Linked DNA regions of Homo sapiens: regions 2, 3, 4, 5, 6 and 7 are each linked to region 1. Evidence: promoter capture Hi-C in 16 types of primary human blood cells and fetal thymus (Javierre and others, 2016). All regions are on one chromosome and are shown on one strand. Each heading gives the region's core, a stretch centred on a gene start or on the middle of the fragment in contact. The rest is flanking DNA. Distances are from core to core; before and after follow the strand shown.

What was found. The method cuts DNA at HindIII sites, captures the fragments that hold promoters and counts their contacts. A CHiCAGO score of 5 or more calls a contact.
Region 2: a contact is called between the fragment with the promoter of ANKRD17 here and the fragment with the promoter of UTP3 in region 1, in 3 of 17 cell types (non-activated CD4 T cells, naive CD8 T cells and total CD4 T cells). The highest score is 7.8, in non-activated CD4 T cells.
Region 3: the fragment with the promoter of UBA6 here is called in contact with the fragment with the promoter of UTP3 in region 1 in 4 of 17 cell types (non-activated CD4 T cells, total CD4 T cells, activated CD4 T cells and 1 more); the score reaches 15.6 in non-activated CD4 T cells.
Region 4: a contact is called between a fragment that was not itself captured here and the fragment with the promoter of UTP3 in region 1, in 2 of 17 cell types (activated CD4 T cells and total B cells). The highest score is 7.9, in activated CD4 T cells.
Region 5: a contact is called between a fragment that was not itself captured here and the fragment with the promoter of UTP3 in region 1, in 1 of 17 cell types (non-activated CD4 T cells). The highest score is 7.1, in non-activated CD4 T cells.
Region 6: a contact is called between a fragment that was not itself captured here and the fragment with the promoter of UTP3 in region 1, in 6 of 17 cell types (total CD4 T cells, naive CD4 T cells, naive CD8 T cells and 3 more). The highest score is 9.6, in total CD4 T cells.
Region 7: a contact is called between a fragment that was not itself captured here and the fragment with the promoter of UTP3 in region 1, in 1 of 17 cell types (total CD4 T cells). The highest score is 6.3, in total CD4 T cells.

Annotation. Positions count from the first base shown.
Region 1 is chr4:70,686,851-70,689,959 of GRCh38, reverse strand. UTP3 (UTP3 small subunit processome component) reads right to left here and starts at 1,428. Exons shown (of 1, transcript NM_020368.3): 1 at 1-1,428. The coding sequence starts at 1,282. RefSeq lists enhancers at 1,303-1,362, 564-1,532, 2,063-2,152, 1,533-2,503. The HindIII fragment of the contact is 6,672 bases long and covers 1-3,109 here.
Region 2 is chr4:73,257,373-73,260,208 of GRCh38, reverse strand. ANKRD17 (ankyrin repeat domain 17) reads left to right here and starts at 1,411. Exons shown (of 34, transcript NM_032217.5): 1 at 1,411-1,933. The coding sequence starts at 1,541. It overlaps ANKRD17-DT (ANKRD17 divergent transcript), which reads right to left and starts at 1,043. Exons shown (of 5, transcript NR_187399.1): 1 at 801-1,043. RefSeq lists enhancers at 890-1,159, 762-1,358 and a silencer at 1,320-1,719. The HindIII fragment of the contact is 8,436 bases long and covers 1-2,836 here.
Region 3 is chr4:67,699,727-67,702,691 of GRCh38, reverse strand. It overlaps UBA6 (ubiquitin like modifier activating enzyme 6), which reads left to right and starts at 1,537. Exons shown (of 33, transcript NM_018227.6): 1 at 1,537-1,643. The coding sequence starts at 1,573. UBA6-DT (UBA6 divergent transcript) reads right to left here and starts at 1,414. Exons shown (of 2, transcript NR_015439.1): 1 at 1,208-1,414. RefSeq lists silencers at 1,444-1,513, 1,644-1,813. The HindIII fragment of the contact is 4,018 bases long and covers 603-2,965 here.
Region 4 is chr4:68,317,503-68,320,536 of GRCh38, reverse strand. YTHDC1 (YTH N6-methyladenosine RNA binding protein C1) reads left to right here. Exons shown (of 17, transcript NM_001031732.4): 12 at 332-414; 13 at 1,675-1,711; 14 at 1,808-1,847; 15 at 1,956-2,018. Among named protein-coding and RNA genes, the nearest start is that of YTHDC1, 31 kb to the left of the region's middle. The HindIII fragment of the contact is 189 bases long and covers 1,269-1,457 here.
Region 5 is chr4:68,333,938-68,337,135 of GRCh38, reverse strand. YTHDC1 (YTH N6-methyladenosine RNA binding protein C1) reads left to right here. Exons shown (of 17, transcript NM_001031732.4): 4 at 1-109. Among named protein-coding and RNA genes, the nearest start is that of YTHDC1, 15 kb to the left of the region's middle. The HindIII fragment of the contact is 2,637 bases long and covers 151-2,787 here.
Region 6 is chr4:73,219,514-73,222,559 of GRCh38, reverse strand. The region is part of intron 1 of ANKRD17 (ankyrin repeat domain 17); the gene reads left to right. Among named protein-coding and RNA genes, the nearest start is that of ANKRD17, 38 kb to the left of the region's middle. The HindIII fragment of the contact is 3,013 bases long and covers 1-2,995 here.
Region 7 is chr4:73,083,061-73,086,063 of GRCh38, reverse strand. ANKRD17 (ankyrin repeat domain 17) reads left to right here. Exons shown (of 34, transcript NM_032217.5): 30 at 618-815. Among named protein-coding and RNA genes, the nearest start is that of COX18, 15 kb to the right of the region's middle. The HindIII fragment of the contact is 7,936 bases long and covers 1-3,003 here.

The DNA of each region.
Region 1 (3,109 bases), core at 179-2,678:
TCTTCTTTCTCCTAGGAGTAAGTCCCCTATTTTTAGCAATTTGATAGGTAATAGCTCTCTTTGCATTTTGATCTTCAAGAGCCTGTTCTTCAGTGCTATTTTCTTCTTTCTTTCTCTTTAGCTTTTGCCTGTCTTCTATTTCTTTATAGTACTTCAGTTTTGCTTTTTCATCAAAATCAGAATCATCAGAAAGATCTGTAACAGCACAGGCAGCAGCAGAAGTCTTTGAAACAGACTTTGGTTTGGGCTTGGTGGATTTTGCTTTTGGAATCAGTTCTTTCTTTACAGCATCATCCTTAAGTGTCAACAGATGACGAATTTCTGAGGACAGCTTCTGATCCACAACGGACAGCTTGTTGATCAAATTTCGGTAGGTAACAAGCCTTTCTATGACAGGATGTCCATGTGCTGGGACTCTCCTAGCTTTCAGGATCAAATAAAAACTGATGTTCGAGCAATAATTCAAGTAGAGGTTGTACTTGGTCCTCAAGTATTGGCTTCCTTTTCCGGGTGGAATGATCCCTTGTTCCACCAACTCTAACAATGGCTCCAGCTCATCCTTAACCTCTGTCAACTTGACTTTCAGGTCTTCTATCAGCTCCAAGAGTTCTGGTGATTCCTTTCGCAACATTTTCAGCTTCTCTTTCACTGAAACTTTAGCCAAATCCTTCACGACCCGTGTCTCAGCCTCATCTACCTGAGGCACTGGTTTTGCAAAGGCCTCAACCCAGGCGACACCAAAATCATCCTCTTGCAGCGCTTGGGCTAGGCGCCGCTGAATGATCTGTGCCTCCTCCTCCTCCTCTCTTTCCTCCTCCTCTGCCTCCTGTTGACTCTGCCGGCCTCGGGACTTGGAACCATAGTCCGTGTCATAGTAAAGTTTTTTCCTCTGACCCCACGACAAACTGGGATCCACAGAGGCCTCAGCTTCACTTTGCACGGAGCTCCCACCATCATCATCGGCATTCTCCTCCTCCTCCTCCTCCCCCGCATTCCCTCCATCTTCGTCGTCCTCATCGTCCATATCTAGGGCTAGCACCTCCTCCTCCTCCTCCTCGCCATCCTCCTCGTCTCCACTCTGTACTTCATTCCAGCCCTTAGCTAAGGCGGCCCGGGATCGTGCCTCATGAAAGTCATCTACCTGATCTTGGTAGTAGCTGGTGTCCCCTGGTGAGGGTGGCAATCCTAAATCATCTCCATTTTCGTCGGTGAGCGTGGGACCTGCCTTGGCTCGCACAGCTGCCCACTTAGCTGCTCCGCGCCGCCGGGATCTCCCCACCATGGCTCACAATCTCAGGTTTTACAGCGACTCCGGACTTTCGGCCACCACTGACTTCGGCGCAGGAATCAGGCGCTCCGGTAACTCGTGGCTCTAAACAGCAGCGCGCTCCCCTACCACCGGAGTTTGCAGACTCCTGATCGGCTACTGGAATTTCCTCTTCCTTCCGGCCCCCAGCATGCTCTCCGCGTGGCGTACGATTGAGGACTTCCGCTCGGTCCCTTAGTCGAGATCACGTTGATACCAACTTCCTTTTCACTGTGCCCTTTAACGCCAGTCGATTCCGGTGAATTAAAATCTTTCCGTGTGGAAACGATAGGATAAGGAAGTTCCGTTCCACAGAACGCTTTCTCGGGCTAATGCGCTTACTCTCGAGTGCCTGGGAGTGGCTGGGGGACGGAATCCTGACGGCACCTCCAGGCGAGGTCCCGATGGCCAATAGAGGGCGCTGCGCTTTACGCCCCGGAGAAGTCCCGGGGGCGTTCCATTGAGGTTTAACTGCGTGTGTACCCGGCGCTTGCGACCGGCAGTCTAGTGCTAGCGTAGTTTTCCTGCTCCCTTGTTTTCTCTTTTCTGCTTATCAGGCTGGAAGTTAATCAGATTGCTTTCCTCTCATTTCACCCCCACCCCCAATACCATATTTCTGGGTACCACAGCCTCAGGCAGCGCCGCTGGACTCCAGAATCCCACGGGAGGTTTCCGGGCGAGAGCGCAGGCCGGGCCTCCGGCTCGGGTTTACTCATCCCCATCGCCCTCTCCCTGCTCACAGGGCTCGGTGACCCGCTCCATGGGGATCGATAAAGCTAGATGACCCCGAGGCTGACAGTGGGAAGGCAGAGCCCCGCTGCAGGGTCTGACTCTTCTCAAGGAAGTCTGCCCTGTAATGTTAGAGTAATTCAGGGTGTAAGTTTTTAGGCATTACATATGTAAGGTTCAGGGTTAGTATTATTATACCTTTTAATGTAGGTAGTTGGAAGCTGAACTTTTGATACGTTGCTAAAATTAATGGTGACATGGCTGGGCGCGGTGGCTCATGCCCATAATCCTAAGCACTTTGGGAGGCCGAAGTGGGTGGATCACTTGAGGTCAGGAGTGCAAAACCAGCCTGGCCAACATGGGGAAACCCAGTCTCTACTACAAATACAAAAAATTAGCGGGGCGTGGTGGCGGGTACCTGTAATCCCAGCTACTCGGGAGGTTGAGGCAGGAGAATCACTTGAACCCGGGAGGCGGAGGTGGCAGTAAGCCGATATCGCACCACTGCACTCTAGCCTGGGCGACAGACAGAGACTCTGTCTCAAAATAAATAAATAAATAAATAAAATAAAATTAATGGTGACAATTTCTTTTTCTTTTGTTTTTTGTTTCTTTTTTCTTTTTCTTTTTTTCTTTTTTTTTTTTTGAGACGGAGGCTCGCTCTGTTGCCAGGCTGGAGTGCAGTGGCAATCTCGGCCCACTGCAACCTCCGACCCCCTGGTTCAAGTGATTCTCCTCCCTCAGCCTCCCGAGTAGCTGGCATTACAGGCACGCGCCACCACTCCCAGCTAATTTTTGTATTTTTAGTAGAGACGGGGTTTCATCATGTTGGCCAGGATGGTCTCCATCTCCTGACCTCGTGATACGCCCGCCTCGGCCTCCCAAAGTGCTGGGATTGATTACAGGCGTGAGTCACCGCGCCCAGCCAATGGTGACAATTTCTTTTCAGAAAGTATAGTGTCATTAGGTTAATAAAAATAATGCAAAATGTTAGAAAAGTGATACTTTGAAATAAACATTTTCCAAGTGCCTAAAGGTGTCCGAAACATTTTGAAATTTTTACAAGATTTTAGA
Region 2 (2,836 bases), core at 162-2,661, 2.6 Mb before region 1:
TAAAGCCCCTGGAAACAAGAGACTTTGATTCCACAAATTATGCGCACAGTAGGCACATGATGAATTTTTGTTTGAATGAATTGATTTAGTCATTGCCAATTCTGCCTTGGTACTCTGTAGAGTACTGGCAACTGCCCACATTTCATATGGTATGCCAATGCTAAAAAGAAAAAAAATGCTAAAAAAAAAAAAAATCCAGGCATATTCAGCTAAACTAAGCAGTCTTAAAATGGCAACTATGTCAGCTGAGACATACTTTTAATCTTGTGCCAGTACATCTGTCTTTGATGTTTGCTTCATTTTCCGTATGCCACTATACTCCTACTAGACCAGAAAGGGATAATTCTGAGTTCAATGGGCTCCACTATCATTTCAAAAGTCCTGAAACTTCTTCAGACACCTAAAAATGAACCCACAACTCCCATAACAGCATTCCTTCCGAGAGAAGTATACAGACAACAATCACTATTTATGCTTGCTTCCAAGCTGAATCGAAGAGGGCCGGAAGAGCTAAATCAGGGTCATTCAGTGAATCGTCTACAAAGTCTGGCACAGACCACGCATCCTTCCCGTGTCTTCCTCCCCTTGGAAACTTGAGGTGTAAGTAATGATCTTAGACATCTCCTAATCGACTGCCTTCATATTACACACGTGTAAACTCAGGTAGAGGATGTCTATGAGCCGAGCTTAAACTCAGGTAAAGAAGGCTCTTTTCCCAACACGACGCCATCTCTCATGATCCAAAGCTCTATCTCTCGATTTGGCGGTGGAAAAAAATGACCAGGAATAAAACTACGTACAGCAGTCCAGAACGAGGCCCCACCTCCCGGATCTGGCGGACCGGCCTCCCGTCAGCAAAGTGTCTGGACCGCGCTTCCGCACCTCACACTGCCCGGGGCCGGCTCCTCTCCAGCCTCCCCGTACTCCCCACACGCCGCAGCACTGCGCGCCCGCGGGGCCCCAGACCCGGCCCTTGAAATCTCACTTTCGCCTTTCGGCCACCCGCGCGCCACGGCTCAGGCGACGGCTGATGGCGTCACTGCACTTCCGCCTGCGGCTGCGTTCTAATCACAAGCCAGGAAGGAAGAAGGGAGGGCTGCAGGGCTGTGTGTGCGGGAAATAGCGAGGAAAGAGAAGAAATCCGGGAGCTCGCGGGCGCTCTGGTTGCAATCGCGCCCCCCTCATCTGTCCCCGCCGTTCCCCTTCGGAAGCTGCCCCAGGCACACTTCCCCGCTTCTTTCCAGTCTCCTCTCCTCTGGTTCTCCCGACACCCGGTCTCCCTGTTACGCCTCACCCTCCTTCCCTTGCTCCCTCCCTCTCCCTCCCTCCCTCCCTCCCATCGTCAGGCTCCCCGCCCTTAGTATCGCGAGACGAGGTGAGAGCTGGCGGAGCGGCGGCGGCGGCGGCGGCAGTAGAGGTGACCGAGGCGGTGGCGGCGGAGGCGGCACCGATTGCTGTGTCGGCCCCAGTGCGGCCGAAGTCGCGGTAGAGCGTAGCCCCACGCCCCTCCCCCGTCCGCGCCCTCCCTCTTTCCCTGGGGATGGAGAAGGCGACGGTTCCGGTGGCGGCGGCGACGGCTGCAGAAGGAGAAGGGAGCCCCCCGGCGGTGGCGGCTGTGGCGGGCCCCCCCGCGGCGGCGGAGGTCGGCGGCGGCGTTGGCGGCAGCAGCAGAGCTCGCTCGGCCTCGTCTCCTCGTGGGATGGTGCGAGTCTGCGACCTGCTCCTGAAGAAGAAGCCGCCGCAGCAGCAGCACCACAAGGCCAAGCGTAACCGGACTTGCCGACCCCCCAGCAGCAGCGAAAGCAGCAGCGACAGCGACAACAGCGGCGGCGGTGGAGGCGGCGGTGGAGGCGGAGGTGGCGGCGGCGGCACCAGCAGTAACAACAGCGAGGAAGAAGAGGACGACGACGACGAGGAAGAGGAGGTTTCTGAGGCAAGGGCCTGGTTTCAAAGGAAGGAGGGAGGAAGGGACTGTAAGGGATAGGGGCCGAAGGTGGGAGGGGATTTGGAGTGGGACAGATTCCAGTGGGTTGATCTCTTAGGGGCCAGGCTTTCGACTGCCCCCTTTCTTCCCTCGGCCTAAATCGTGAGGTGTGGGAATGTGGGGGAGGGTAGCTGACACGTGGGGGTGGGAGGACCACGGAGTTCACAGAGTTGGTGAACAGCCTGTTATCATGGGATGGCTCACTTGGTTAAGGATGGAGGGAATTGGTTAGATTCCCTGTTTGCACGCCGGGGGGTGGGGGGGTGGTCTGCCTGGGGCCAGTAGGGCCACCTTAGTCTGAGGCGGGATCGGGATCAAAGCGGGAGGAGTAAAATAATGGGTAAATGAGTCTCTTGGGGACCAACTAGGAGGTTGATCAACTTCTCCCAGTTGTGAGGTGGAGGGGAGCAGTTTGAGGGGGGACGTAAGGTTGTAATGGACTCAGAGCTAAGTGTTTGTGTATGTGAGGGACACGTGAGAAGCTGTACTTTTCCATACTGTTCTGCAGGGTTTTTCGTAACTATCCTGGCTGCTGAAGTAACTTCATTTCCTCGATCTCCCAGGGATTTTCGATGAACTGATGCTGTATTTGTATAAATTTATCAGTAACTTTAAATAATTACAAATGACCATATACATTTGTAAGTGGATGAAAAATATATTTGATCCTTACACGTACATACATACATGCCTTCGAATGTTTCCTTAGTGAGTTAGAATTAAGCTAGGACCTGTTGTCCCGTAATATGGGACAGCCAAAGGGTAGGCTTTGGAGCCAGGCCTGGTTGTGGTGAGTTGGAATAGGAAGGCCTCTCGGTTTGTCCTAGTGATCTGGTTTCATAATAACTTTAT
Region 3 (2,965 bases), core at 288-2,787, 3.0 Mb after region 1:
TAGTTTTCTTTCCCATTTTACATATGTGACAAAACATTAAAATCTGTTAAATCTGGTTGCTTGTTACATGCCTGAAATAATTCACACCATATTTTATCAAATCTAACATGCCCTCAATTTTAAGATGCATCGTTTTCTGTATTTATTTTTTAAAAATTCATCCTCTATTCATGGATGTTAAAATATGAAGAAGCGTGGGTAATGGCAGGCCATTGTTTTGGCCTAGCCTTCTACACTAGGCCCCATCAGATCAAACCAGAATGGAGTTGCTTGTGCTAAGCACCATGTAATTAAAGTGGATTTTGAAAAAATGAGCCAGTTTTTTTTAAAAAAACAGGAGATTCTAGTTAACCTAGTGGGCATAATAAGGAAGTATGCTCTGTTTTAACCTTTACAAGGAAAGAAACTTTGAAATAATCTGATTTTTGTTCTGTTTCTGCTTTCTTCAATCTTTTTCATTATCTTCAGTCCTGTAGCATTATCTTAGTGCTAGAGCAGAGCCTTGAAAGAATAGAACACAGATCAAGAACATTTTAATGTGGAAAAGGTTCACAACTGGATTGAGGAACACGGATAATGCTATAGGTGAGCAACATAAAGCTTCCAGGTATTTTAAGATGTGCAATTTTGAAGAGAATAGAGGGCACGAAGGATAATACAGTTTTGCCTGGACCCTCATCTCCATATGAGAGGAAAAATTTCTAATTAAAAATATGATACATCACAGAAAATTACATAATACCCAAAGTATATGCTAATTTTAAAAATCCTGCAGATGTTTATTCAAATATACAGTGTTATTTAGTGAAAGACAAATCCTAATGTTATTGTGTCCAACTCATTTTTGCTTTCTAAGAAAGGTGACACGGAAGTAAATGAAAAAGAATTATATGAGAACTTTTTAGATATGTGTTCTGGTAATCTAACAGTGACTAGCTCTATAACCTTGACCAAGTCACTTGCACTGACCGGAAGTTCCTTTCCCTTACCCACAAATTTAAGGGACCAAACTGGATGATCTAACGACATCTATGGCACTAAAAGTCACATGATTCTATTAAATCTGAGGCAGCGCCTCACATGTAGTGGACTCCCAAAATTATTTATTAAATGTATAACATCTTTAAGTGGTATCCCCTCACTGACAATCTGGAGCTATTAGCAGCCTTCAGTTTATTTATAAAATAAAGCTGTTTCCTCTTCTTACCGTTAAGACTCTTTTAAGGATTTGCAACGCTATCCCATCATTTCGCGGGTTACTAGAGTCCTGCATGTTTGGCTGTAGAGCAAGGGTGACGCGTAACTTCTGGACTTTGGTTCCATCTACATCTGCCGGATGCGGATGCCAGTCGCAACAGTAACGCCCCCTTCGGCCACCTGCACCACAGCACGCCATGCGGCCACACCCAAACCGGAAACCAGGACGCCCCTAGGGTTGACGGGAAGGCGCTGCCGGGCTCCTAGCTTCCCCAGGCCCGCCCCCTCTGATGACGTCTCCGCCCGCCCCTTGACCCCCCCACGGTCCCGCCCCTTCCTACCTTCCAGTAGCCGGCGGCGGTGTCTCAGGCGGCAATGGAAGGATCCGAGCCTGTGGCCGCCCATCAGGGGGAAGAGGCGTCCTGTTCTTCCTGGGGGACTGGCAGGTGAGAGGACGAGAAGGGCGAAGGTGAGGGGTCGCGGGTGGGACCCAGGCTCCGGGTTTCTGCTTCTTTCTTTCCGGCGGGCTGGGGGCGCCCGAGAGGCCGCGGGGCCGAGCAGAGCCGGCCCTGGGAGGCGAGGGGCGCGCGCGGAGTGGGTGTGGCGACGTGGGCTAGGGCCTCTGCTGTTGCCGGCTTTCCTGAGGGAAAAGTCCCCTTTCCGCACCTTTGAGGGCTTTCTCAGTTCTGGCTGGGATTCGGGATCCTCCTTCCTCCAAGTCACCAGACTTGGGGGGCTCCGGTCGAGAGCGAGTTCTGGTCTCGGTCACTTGGCGTGAGCTTCCCCGACTGGTGCCAAGCACCTTTCCTCCTTTCCGTAAAAAGAAAGCTAGGAGCGCCACTGTGCACCTCCACTGAGATCCTCTTTTGAAAACTATTACCAGAAGGAACTTGGTAAGAATGAATCAGTAGCAATCTGGACACCCTGAGGCCTTTGTTGACTTCGGAAGAAGGAAAAAAAAAAAGCCAGGAAAAAAAAATACACAAGTTACCCATTCTTATTTCCCACTTGGTTTTGAAGTTCTTCAGGTCTTTCCCGCCCCTGTAAAATTAGGGGGAAAATATTTGTGCTAGGCCTTTACCAATTTCTTGGTTAGTAGTTCCTCTTTCAATCATCTCATAATTAATAAAGCAAGTGGTTACATTCTATCCACCACTGTCAGAATACACCATGCCAAAGATAGAATTGATGGATGTATTATTTTCAGCTGATGTGAGACTTTGTAAACCTGTAGCCTTTTCGCCAGTTTCAGACTGAAGGGATGCTTTCAGTTTCATGGTGTTGTCTGCCATTGCCAACACTGCCAGAGTGGAGGGATATTATGTAATATAACCCGCGCCTTATTTGAAGCGTTTTTGATTGTCTTATAGATCATATTATTTTTACATATTTTTGAAACATTCCAGTGAGGCACAACTTTCTGAAAAGGGCCAGTCACGCCATTAAGTGGCAGAGCTAGTTAGACTGCAGCTGTTCTCGTTTTTATTCAGATTTACCCACCAGGCCTATTGCCCCCGCCATGCAAGGAAAACAGCAAGTGAAAGTGTACTAGGGATAAAATGATAGGAAAGTAGATAATAAAAAACTTTGGCCGGGCGCAGTGGCTCAAACGCTTGCAATCCCAGCGCTTTGGGAGGTCGAAGCAGGCGGGTCGCTTGAGCTCAGGAGTTCTTAGACTAGCCTGGGCAACATGGCGAAACCGCGTCTCTACAAAATACAAAAAAATTAGCTGGGCGTAGGTGATGCACGCCTGTAGTCCCAGCTACTC
Region 4 (3,034 bases), core at 114-2,613, 2.4 Mb after region 1:
ACTGATATTTAGTTTGAGAATGACTTTGTTTACTTTTGTTTAGACTACTAAAATGTGACTTACATGTTTTGATTGGACTAGTCTGCAATTTTCTCATCATAGCATGAGTTGGCAGAGAATATCTACTTCCAGCAGTACATTTAAAGTTTGGTTTATAGGAATTAATTTGAGAATCAAAATGTAGGAATTTTAAAATAATTTGCTCACTAAAAAAATTAAGATGTTAAATAATGGGTTATTCTTTGTACTTATCTCTGTCAGAAACTCTTGCTTTACTCTTTGTTCTCCCAGCAGTTTTTGGTTTAATTTCTAATGTGTCTAATTTGTGTAGGCGTCGACCAGAAGATTATGATATTCATAACAGCAGAAAGAAACCAAGGATTGACTATCCCCCTGAGTTTCACCAGAGACCAGGTTAATATTTTATAATCCTGCAGATATTTGATTTCAAATTATTGGAAAAAAATTAAAAAATTAAAAACAACCCTCACAATCCTGCAGTTTTAAAAGTGAAAAAAATTCAGGACCTGACTACTTAAATCTTGAGAAATTTTAGTAGTTCTCATTAGTGTAATTCTTCCCTTAACTTCGTTAAGGTTGTCTAGTCTATTCCAGTGTAACTCATCATACCCTATGAATTACCTGAAATTGCTAATTTTGCAAAAATGGAAACTTATCTGCACATGTGTTTAAGGTTAAAAGTAGTTATGAAAAGCAATAACCTTATATTCTATCAGGCTTTTTGTTCCCTATGGTAGTTAGTGTTTCATGTGATACATATACATACAATGCTACTTTTTTTAAATAAAAATCTTTATGTCTTTGGAGAGGAATGGGAAATACTCGGTATGTAATCTAAATGTAGCTTTTCAATTAATCTATCCCTTACTGAAATTTAAGAGAGCAAACTATATTCAAGAAGGGATATCATGTATTTGAAGAGAGTCAGTGATACACTTGTGAAACTTAGGCAGTTAGGAGATTGATGTTAGTGATCATTATAGCACTATTATGTAACAAGTGGCTTGATTAGCCTCATTCTTCCAAAATAGGTTGTCCTGTTGTAGAAAGTGAAAATAGTTTTTCCCCAGTAACATGACTACTCAAATGTTTTTACATTTTAATTTGTTGGGTTCTTATTAAAAGAAGCAGGGGAAAGAATATTTTTCTAACCACCATCGATTTTTCATTTTCAGTGTATACATCTTCATTTTTGCAACTTTTGCAATTTTTTCCCCCTCCCCCTTAAGTTTACATTTTAAAAAGCTTATCTGTGGTTTTCTTGGTAAGACCTACATATACCCAAGGTGGAAAGTAAACATTTGTTTTAAGGAAGTCCTGTCATAGTGTGCTCAAGATAGTTCCTCTGCCCTTACCTTCCCTGTGAAGCAGAAGGAAGAAATTTTCTGATTAGCAAGATTTGGAGTGTGAACATAGAAGATACCTATCTGAAAGCTTCTCTAGCAGTTTACAATTCTATGATATCATTAGTTATTTCCTAGATTATCATGTAATCTGAGAAGAAAATTTGAAAATGGGATAATACAGTAGTAGCATCACTTAAAGTACATATTTCATGGAAAGAATTGAAACGAGTGGTAAGGAAGGTTTAATTATAATGCCATAAAAGAAAAATATAAATTTGATTTACTAAAATGCTTGATGTTTGAACAGGGTATTTAAAGGATCCACGATACCAGGAAGTGGACAGGTAAGTCGGGTTCACTCTTGCCTAGTTTTGAATTACATTCTTGGAACTAGTTTATGAATTACCTGAATTTAGTTTCACAAATCTTATTCCCAACAGACGATTTTCAGGAGTTCGCCGAGATGTGTTTTTAAATGGGGTAAGCATTTCATTTTATCTATTTAATGTGGATAAAATCAGGCTCTGATTTATTTTGCAGTTCTGTGATAATTTTTAATTATATTGACATTATCATCTTTTATTTTAGTCCTACAATGATTATGTGAGGGAATTTCATAACATGGGACCACCACCACCTTGGCAAGGAATGGTTTGTATTATTCTATTTTTATAAGTTACATAACTTAATTTGCAGTTCTAGTATTTCAGGTGCTTACTCGGAATATGATTGTTACAGTTACTCATTAAAGAGACTTAAACTGGCCAGGCGCCGTGGCTCACACCTGCAGTCCCAGCACTTTGGGAGGCTGAGGCGGCTAGATCACCTGAGGTGAAGAGTTCGAGACCAGCCTGGCCAACACGGTGAAACTGAAACCTTGTCTCTACTAAAAATACAAAAAACATTAGCTGGGTGTGGTGGCGTGTGCCTGTACTCCCAGCTACTCGGGGAGGCTGAGGCAGGAGAATTGCTTCAACCCAGGAGGCAGAGGTTACAGTGAGCCGAGATTGCGCCACTGCACTCCAGCCTGGGCAACAGAGGGAGACTCCATCTCAAAAAGACTTAAAATACAGATTTTTGATGATAAATAATTGTATGCTGTCTTTCAAACTAAAGACTAAAAGCTCATTTGTGTTAATAGTACAGGCTTGAGAACTGTAATAGTGTATTATGGTAGTAATTAGTAGTGCAAAGTCCGCTTGGGTTCAGATATATTTCTTTTTCTTCCCAACTCTGTGACTTTGGGTTAATTTCTTAATACAACTCTTAGTTTTCCTCATCTGTAAAATTCCATGGGCATTCACTGATGCTTTGTCTTATCAAATATAATATTTAGTACTTACTCTGTGCAAGGCACTGTGCTTGTTCTGATTATATCATGGTGAATGAAATTGACATCATGACTGTCCTGGTATAGCTTAAAATTTAATGTAGTAGTGTCATTTTCATTGTCAAGATAAATTTACAAAGTACATGTTAAGTTTAGCATAGTGCCTGATCTAATACTCACTAAATTTTCTGTGTAAAATAAGATTAATTAAACCCTGATTATTCCTGCTTTTTAATTATTTCCTTTAAGAAAACTGAATTGTCTTAGAGTATATTTTAAGATATTGAAGATAGCTGAAGCATTAATTTTCAAGAAATAAAAACCTGGAAGTTGAAGT
Region 5 (3,198 bases), core at 220-2,719, 2.4 Mb after region 1:
GAGGAGGGAAATGATTATGACACTCGAAGTGAGGCCAGTGACTCTGGTTCTGAATCTGTTTCCTTCACAGATGGGTCTGTCAGATCTGGTTCAGGCACAGATGGATCAGGTACTACTTTTTATATGTAAAAGTTTGTCTTAAAAAAAGCTTGATAGGTTTCAGTCTTGAAAATGTTTAAATTATAAAATTGTTGAGGAGATGGGGGATATTAATAGGATTGTCTTGTGATCCTTTATATGCTTTTGAATGTTATAAATACATTTGAATAATCTTGGATAAGATTTACATATTTTAGGAAAGGCATTTCCTAGCTACAGAATGGTTGTGTTGTAAATGAACACAAGTCCATTTGATTCTGTATAAGGAAATGTATTTCAGATTTCTGTAAATTCTTAGATTTTCATACCAGTCAGCAGTTTATTTAAACACTGATGTACTTGAAGTATATTCATAGGAAACCTGTCCACTGGGTATTACAGTATTTCCTTGGTAAAATACCCCTAGATTTCCATCATATGGCTTCAGAATCAAAACAGATTATTTCTTTTTTATCTCTGGGAGCACAGACTTTTCTTCTAATTTTGTGTCTGTCAGTTGACTGGCTGAGACAGGGTCGACAAGAGGGCTGGGGTGTAAGGTATAAGATGGAGATGAAGACTATAAATAAAATTCTTGTGGAAAAATCAGGTAAGAACCATCTTCAGTCATTTCTTCAATGCTATATATATCCTGCCTCTCTATACCTATGAGACAAAAATGTATGACTGTTACGTAGTTGGAGGCACTAGGCTTAGGGGAACTTTTCTTGGGGGAGGGTACAGCAAGGAGAGGTCAGGGTACTTACAGAGCACTATATGATGATTATAATCTCATGACTGTCTTATGTAAAGATGCTACCAGATTGCTACATAAGCAAAATGTACTAAACATAAGAAAATTCCTATTTTTTTGAAATACATTTACAGTTTATTATAGAATTTGATCATTTATAATAGTACATTGTTTTATATATATAGTATATATAGTATAGAAAAGTACTTCAGTTGCCAATCACTAGAAGATAACTGGCCATCTGCTCTACCTATACTATATACAGATAGTATATATCTATACTATATATTTTATACTATATATTTATACTATATGGATAGTATATATCTATACTACATACAGTATAGGTAGAGCAGATGGCCAGTTATTTTCTAGTGATTGGCAACTGAAGTGCTTTCAACCTTTTGTTCACTAGAATTCTAGGTTTGGGAGTTAAGATAGGCTTTTCAAGGGAGGTAGAGTTAAACAGAATAGATGAGTAGTTGGATTTGTTGTAAAAACATATGAAATCTTTATGCTTCCATCATGCCTTTTACAAACTGATAGGATATATTTTTTATAATTTAAGATAATAAATATTTCATTAGCAGTATGTGTTGAATGTTCATTTATTGTGGAGAATGTATGAAACCACTCCCTTGGGTAGGGAACGTTTTGTTGTAGGAATCTTCTTTTTGGTATCTCTGTTATTTCTTAGACTTTAATGTTTGTATTGTTTACATTAAACAAAGGGAACTTACTTAAATGGGTAGGACCAGAAATTGCATTTGTAACAGGCTCCTAGATGATACCATAGTAAGGTAACTTGATTGACACACTTTGTTTTTGTGGAGAAGACATTTCAAATTAAATGGTAACTGTAGTTTTATAATAAATCTTGATATCAAAACTCTGTTACTAGACTAGGTTTATTCTAAAAGAGATACCTGAAAGTTTTATTTTCCTTATAAAGGAAAATCCCTTATGTGGAACATGCTTTAGGTACTATATTAATATGCAGGAAATTTTTTTTTATACAATAGTTTATGAAAGAGTAATGGGGTGATTTTGGAACTTCTTGATTAAGAGACGTCAGTTTTTAAATAAAAGTGATCACAGTTGAGTTTCTCTGTCATGAATTTTCTAGATTCCAGTTCATTTTACCTTATTCTCAGAATTTTTGGTAACTTTATAAAAGCAACAGACTGATTGATAACAGTTTATTTATTAGATGATTTTCATTGTTCTTTTGACCTGAGAGTAATAGTTGGGGGAGAGGGCCATAAACTTAAGAGCATTGGGAGTTATTCATACAAAAATGATGAAAATTCCTTGGAGATTTCTCATGCTAATGCTAGGTTTAGCATTATATAAAAACAATTGAGTAGGATCTTCTGCTTCTGTTATTTTCCCTGCATTATCTCAGATCTTTTTAGTAACTTTTTAATTATTGTTTTTGTCTTTATATAAAGAGGGTCTTGCTATGTTGCCCAGGCTGGTCTCGAACTCCTGAGGTCAAGTGATCCGCCTGCCTCGACCTCCCAAAGTGCTGGGATTACAGGCACGAGCAACTGCACCAGGCCCTTTTTAGTACTTTGGACCATGAAATAATTCTTTTTTAACAGCAACAAGAGATAAATTACACTCAGTCAGATGCATTCATAATGCTTAGACTACTGAAAGAAATATCCATGGGGGAAAAATTAGAAGAAACATGTCAGAACTTTTGAAAGAAATAATGAAAAAAGCCCCCAAAACTAGTTAAACCTGTAATCACCTTTCAAAAATAGTATAAAACATCCTTTCTACTTGCTCAAGCCAGAGGACCTGCCCTTGAGTCTAGGTTCTGCCATCCAGGAACTGTGGGACCCTAGTCTAGTTGCCTAACTGCCTGTCTAATTCAAGGTTTCTTCATCTGTAATGAGAATATCTTGTGAACTTGTTATGAGAATTAAAGGAGATAAGTAGTTAAAGCTTTTTAAATAGCTGTCATTATATAGTAGGTTATTGTATACATGATCACTGATTATTATTTTTCAGCTTTCCATTGTTTATATAAAAATAAGTATATGCATTTTTTTCTTCCTATTCCCTTATCTCTAAGCTGAAAAGTAAAAGGAGCTTATCATGGTAAAACTAAGATAAAAATAAACAGATAGGAGAGCTGAATTCCATTTCAAGTCCTCATGTATATGCTTACAAAGTTCCAAATTAAGCTTGGGACTGGTTCTTACATGGCAGGTAATCCAAACCTTTTCTATTTACTGAAGATTTTCAGCTCTCTTACAGAAATACACAGGCTACCATTAAAATTGTAGGGATAAATTTTAAATTGAATTTGAAAATAAGAGCAGTAATCCAGGGAGGAAATGGCTAAGGAGAATGAA
Region 6 (3,046 bases), core at 240-2,739, 2.5 Mb before region 1:
AAAAACGGTTATTTTAGCTTTAAACTAAGCATGTTTATATCAATCTGATTGCTTAATTTAGCTGGTATACTCTGGTCCTAGATTTTTCATGTGACTTTGATTATTATAAAACAAATTATTAAATTAAAAATATTAAAACCCTGAAATTTAGGGCACTGATGCTAGAGAGACATCAATACAAAATTACTATAATTTGAATCATGAACATTTTAAATTATATTTTCTCTTTTCTGGTTGTAAAAATTTTATAAGATCCTATTTGAGTATAAATCAGTCCAAGGAAATACATGTCAAAGTGAAACTATAATTGCTTTTGGCATTGAATGTAGTATACTATTAGAAATTTGTATTTATAGGTATAGGTATTTAAATCTCATATTCTTATCTGTGGGATTGTGTAGGGTTTTTCTTTTTTTTCCTCATTAGATAAAACCTGGGTAATTCAGATAAAGAGGCTTTATGGTGGTGAGTGGTATTCCTAATACTTAGACTGTTGAGATAATTTATTAACTATTTCACATCTTCAGGAAGATTATTTTACTGTGGGGAGAGGGCTTGGGAGAAGAAGCTGCAAAGGGAAGCTAGGCGGGGTTAGCAGGAGAAAAAAGCCTATGCGCATTATAAAGTGCTGCATGATCAATGAGTATTTTCTGGAGTCCCTCAGTGTGTGCTTGGAGCTGACATTGCAGCAAGTCTCATGGTTGTTCTGCAGAATGAAAACTGATTCCATTTATTACCTACCTCCTTGCAGACACCTGCCAATGTGCTCTTTTCCCCTTTCCTAAAAGCTGTTAGGTCTAAGTTGAATTGTGGTTAATTTTTATTCTTTTCTCTTTTATTTTTTACTTTGTTTCTATTAGTGAGTTTCCTTAAAAATGTGTGGTAAAATTATCTACTTAGAAATAGTAGTATAAACTTTCATCAAAGGAGTTTAGTAATTACAAGTGGCCACATGACTTTTTAGTGGTTCAGTTTAAATAAGCCTAATTAGATTACAGAGTTCTAGTGTTACATTTTAATTTGCTTTTAAAATTTTTTGGTTTGGATTTTAAAGAAGTGTGCTTTGGAGATTTTGATAAATCTATTTGACAATTTTTCTTAGCCATTTAAAACTTCAGCATATAACAGATTTTAGAAGTCTTATTTATGTTCTGAGGAAATCCTACTTGAGCACTGTTTTGTGCTTTATGCATAGGTTTTTTTAATGCTACCTGAACAACTGGCTTTTTATTATCTCAATTGTTTAATACCATGTTAAGATTTCATGTTACCTTATTTATTCAATGTTGCTAGTTATTAAAACAACCTCTGCAATTTTAGTTTTCCTAATTCTCAATTTATCTTAATTTAGTTTCTATGTACCTGTTGCATCCTATCATACTAAATAAGTAGCTTTTTCTCTTTATTTAAAATATCATTTGACTTAAATATTTGTCAATCTTGGTAACATTTTCTAAGTAGTAATAAAAGAGCCTTATCCAAAGTTATAAGTACTCATAATGACACAGTGCTAAAAATACAGAGTGCAAAGAATAAATTTGCTAACTTTGCAGATAAATGTACCATTTTCTAAAGCACCTCATATTGCAAGTAAACAGATATTTATTACATAATGAGCTTTCCAGAAAAATATATTCCCTAGCCCTCTACCCCCCACAGGGATAACTCCTTGAATAAATGTCCAGTAATGGATAATGAAGTTCATCTGTATACCACAGTGACAGTTTTATTATTGTACTTAATATTGAGCTACTTGAAGTTCATTACCGTAATTTTCACCTTTGTGATTTTATTTATTGAACATACGGAATTTTATGTAGATTATGCTTATTTGCATTGAATAAATATTAGACTCTTTTTTTCCTGTCTTTGTAACTTGATCTTTTGAATCATAAACTTCTTAAAGGTACTCTTATTGAATATTAGTTAACAAAAGTCAATATCATTAGTGAACATAACACAAATGATTTCTCATAATACTATGGCTTACCTTTTAAACTGTGATTACTGATTATATATGCCCACATATATTTAAGTTGACTATTTAGACCTTTAAAATCTTAAGTAAAATACTCTCTAAAATGTATAATAAAATTAGAAAAGGTGGATTTCAACTTACATCATTGCTTTTCAACAGTCCAAGGTAAGGGATTAAATAGAGTGTCTTGGCTATTTCATTTATTCAAATAATCCAGGCAGTAATTTTCTTCTCCAAACCAAAGGCATCAAAGTATTTCCGTTCCTTCTGCCTACCTTCTGTAAAAGGAACTAATACTCAGGAAAGTAGCCATATACAGATGGCAGAAAAAGGGCTGACAGCTCATATAAATACCTCTTTTCTTGTTCTGTTTATGTTTTCCTGAGACATGATTATAATTTTAGAATTTTGATGACCTTCCTGTAAAATTATGTGTAACAATAGATTGTACTACTTAGAATGATCAATAAGAGGAAAAATGTCTTCCAATTTTATATCCCAAATTTACATGGCCAAGGGCTGTGTATATAAACCTGTGGTTTATATGTTGGCTTTTTTATATGAAAACATGAAACAACTGAGAGATCATTTCAGAAACTTGGTTACTGTATATTTAGTGTTATTATTTATAATTGAGCCAGTTTTAGGAGTCTTAGTAATAAGAAATCTTCACAGATATTTCCATCCTTTAATTTTGATTAAGTTCAGATTGTTCTGGGTATAGTATTTGATATATTTTTGCTTTAAGAAAGTAGGAAATTTTATGAAAATAAAAATGTTTATATTGTTAAGTGTAATAATAACTCTCATACCCGTTCTTATTCTTTTGTCATCTAAAGCCAGGATGTCCAGCTTCATCTGTACTTGATGTTATAGGTTGTGGTATATAAAATAAAAGTGCCAACTCTCTATGGTTCTGTCTATGGACAGTGGGTTGAGGATTTGACTGAACCCTTTAGGTTGGAACTGAATTAAGGTTCAGATTTAAGCAAAGTAAGTAGGTTTATTATGGAAGCTTTTCTTGCTCTGTATTTATCTTAGCTGTTTTTGTTTTTTAAATAAAATTGA
Region 7 (3,003 bases), core at 293-2,792, 2.4 Mb before region 1:
TTTGAATTTAAGAGTATAATGTGATAATTGTTTCTTTTATAATTATCTACATAGTTTAGTTTTTTGTGTGTGTGAGACAGGGTCTCACTCTGTCACTCAGGCTGGCATGCAGTGGTGCCATCACAGCTCATTGCAGCCTTAACCTCCTGGGCTCAAGCAATCCTCCCACCTCAGCCTCCCAAGTAACTGGAACTACAAACACGCACCACCAAACTTGGCTAATTTTTTTTTTTTTTTAATTTTTTGTAGAGGCAGTCTATCCTGGCCTTGAACTCTGGGTTCAAGCAGTCCTCTCACTTTGGCCCCCCAAAGTGAGATTCATGCCTGGGATTATAGGCATGAACCACCACACCCAGCCAGGAACTTTTTTTTTTTTTTTTTGAGGTGGGGTCTCGATGTGTTGCCCAGACCAGTCTTGAATGCCTGGCCATAAGCAGTCCTCCCACCTTGGCCTCCCAAAGTGCTGGGATTACAGATGTGGGCCACCACTCCCAGCCGGGATTTTTTTAATTATCTAAAATAGTTTTGAATATATTTAGGGCCTTTTAGAATTTTAAGGTATCTCTATTTCTTGCAGGAGTAACTATTATAAATTATGATGACCTTCTACATTATAGGTATTGTCAATATGGACTCGCCATATGGTTCTGTAACACCTTCTTCAACACATTTGGGAAACTTTGCTTCAAACATTTCAGGAGGTCAGATGTACGGACCTGGGGCACCCCTTGGAGGAGCACCCGCAGCTGCTAACTTTAACAGACAACATTTTTCCCCGCTTAGTTTGTTGACTCCGTGTTCATCAGCATCAAATGGTGAGTTTTATACACCGTAATTCCATAAGAATCTGCATATGTTTTCTTAAAAACAGCAGGTTTCAAACCTCATCATAATTTTAATACCATAAAAAGGTAATTTGTACTCTTAGAAGTCTGGAATTTCAAAAAAATTTCTAGGTATTTAAATGATTAGAATCAACCTAGGTTCTATCAAACCTAAAATATTGAAGTTTTTCTAAGAGGGATTTTTATTATTTTTTATTTTTATTAGAGACAGGCTCTCACTGTGTTGCCCTCGCTGGTTTCGTCAAACTCCTGGGCTGAAGCAGTCTTCCTGCCTTCCAAAGAGCTGGGATTACAGGTGTGAGCCACCACACCTGTCCTGAGGGATCATTTTTTGGGGGAAAAAAATTAATCCTTGTACCTGTTATTAATTTATGTTTACTTTTAGTTTTGAGAATACAGGTACCAAGGAGAAAGATTTCTACCCTTGAGTGAAAATTACATCCTTTTAGTCCACCTTTAAATCTCATCTAGGCTGGGCACAGTGGCATACACCTGTAATCCTAGCACTTTGGTAGGCCAAGGCGGGTGGATCACCTGAGGTCAGGAGTTCAAGACCAGCTCGGCCAACATGGCAAAACCCTGCCTCTACTAAAAATACAAAAATTAGCCAGGCGTTGTGGTGTGCACCTGTGATCCCAGCTACTTGGGAGGCTGAGGCAGGAGAATTGCTTGAACCCAGGAGGCGGAGGTTGCAGTGAGCCGAGATCACACCACTGCACTCCAGCCTGGGCAACAGAGCAAGACTTCATCTCAAAAAAAAAAAAAAATCTCATCTGCATTAACAACACAACAGATTTCACATTATCACATGTGTTTTTTAACTACAGGCAGACTTTTGAAGCAGTGATTAGATTTTCTTTCTTTCTTTTTTTTATTTGAAATGGAGTCTCACTCTGTCACCCAGGCTGTAGTGCAATGGCTCAAGCGATTCTCCCACCTCAGCCTCCTGAATAAATGGGACTACAGGCATGTGCTACCACACCTGGCTAATTTTTGTATTTTTAGTAGAGACAGTTTCACTACATTGGCCAGGCTGGTCTCAAACTCCTGATCTCATGATCTGCCCACCTCGGCTTCCCAAACTGCTGGGATTACAGGTGTGAGCCACCAGGCCTAGATTTTCAAACTAATGAAGATCAGTCAGCAATAGAGAATTCAACTCAACTAAGAGAATTCTGTAGTAAGGTTGGATATGTTTGTTTTCCAGGTAAAGATGTGAAATTGCTTATCCCTTAAGGAAGTTATAGTAAGACTTCGGTTTTTTTTTTTTTGTTTTGTTTTTTTTTTTAACTATCAAATTTCTTCTAACTAGCAATACTGGAATAAATAACAGTTAACCTAATTAACTTAATGAAAGAGTAAAGAGTTATAATTATTTTAGAGATACATGTCAGAGTACATTGCCAGTTAAAGCATGAGGTAAATTGTAGCCTGCAATGAATTTATATATTCATAGTTTTTCTTGTGTTTGTCAAATAGTGGCAGTCATATAGAATATTAATTATCCTTGCACAGCTCCCAAAGTGCTGGAATTACAGGCGTGTACCACCACACCACCCAGGTTAGGTTTTTTAATACATGCTTTTGAATATAGTGCTATATTGTAAATACAGAGTATCATTGAGGGCATTACAATTGCTTTTATTGTTGCCACATTCCAGTAACTATTTTGTTACAAAAAATTTCAGACCCATAGAAAAGTTAAAGAATAGTTCAAGGAATATCCATATTTCCTTCGCCTAAATTTCCCAATTATTTTGTTATATTTATTTTCTCTCTCTACTGTTTTGCTGAACCATTTGTAAATAAGGTGCAGATATGACACTTCAGACCTAAAAACATGCATCACTTAAGAATAAGGATATTTTCTTATGCAACCATGATACCATTGTCAAATACCTAATAGGTTAACATGAATTCAGTAAGAATTAATCAGTCCATATTCAGATATCTTCAATTATTCCAAAACGTTTTTTATAGATGTTTCTTTCTTGAACCAGGAACTACCACTCAAGGCTCACATATTGCATTTGATTATGTCTCTCAGATTTTGTAATTAATAATTTTAAACTTTCAAGAATACCACAAGGATCCCTTGTATATTTTTCCCAGATTCACCAATTAAACTGCATTACTTCCTTTCCTCATCATATATTCC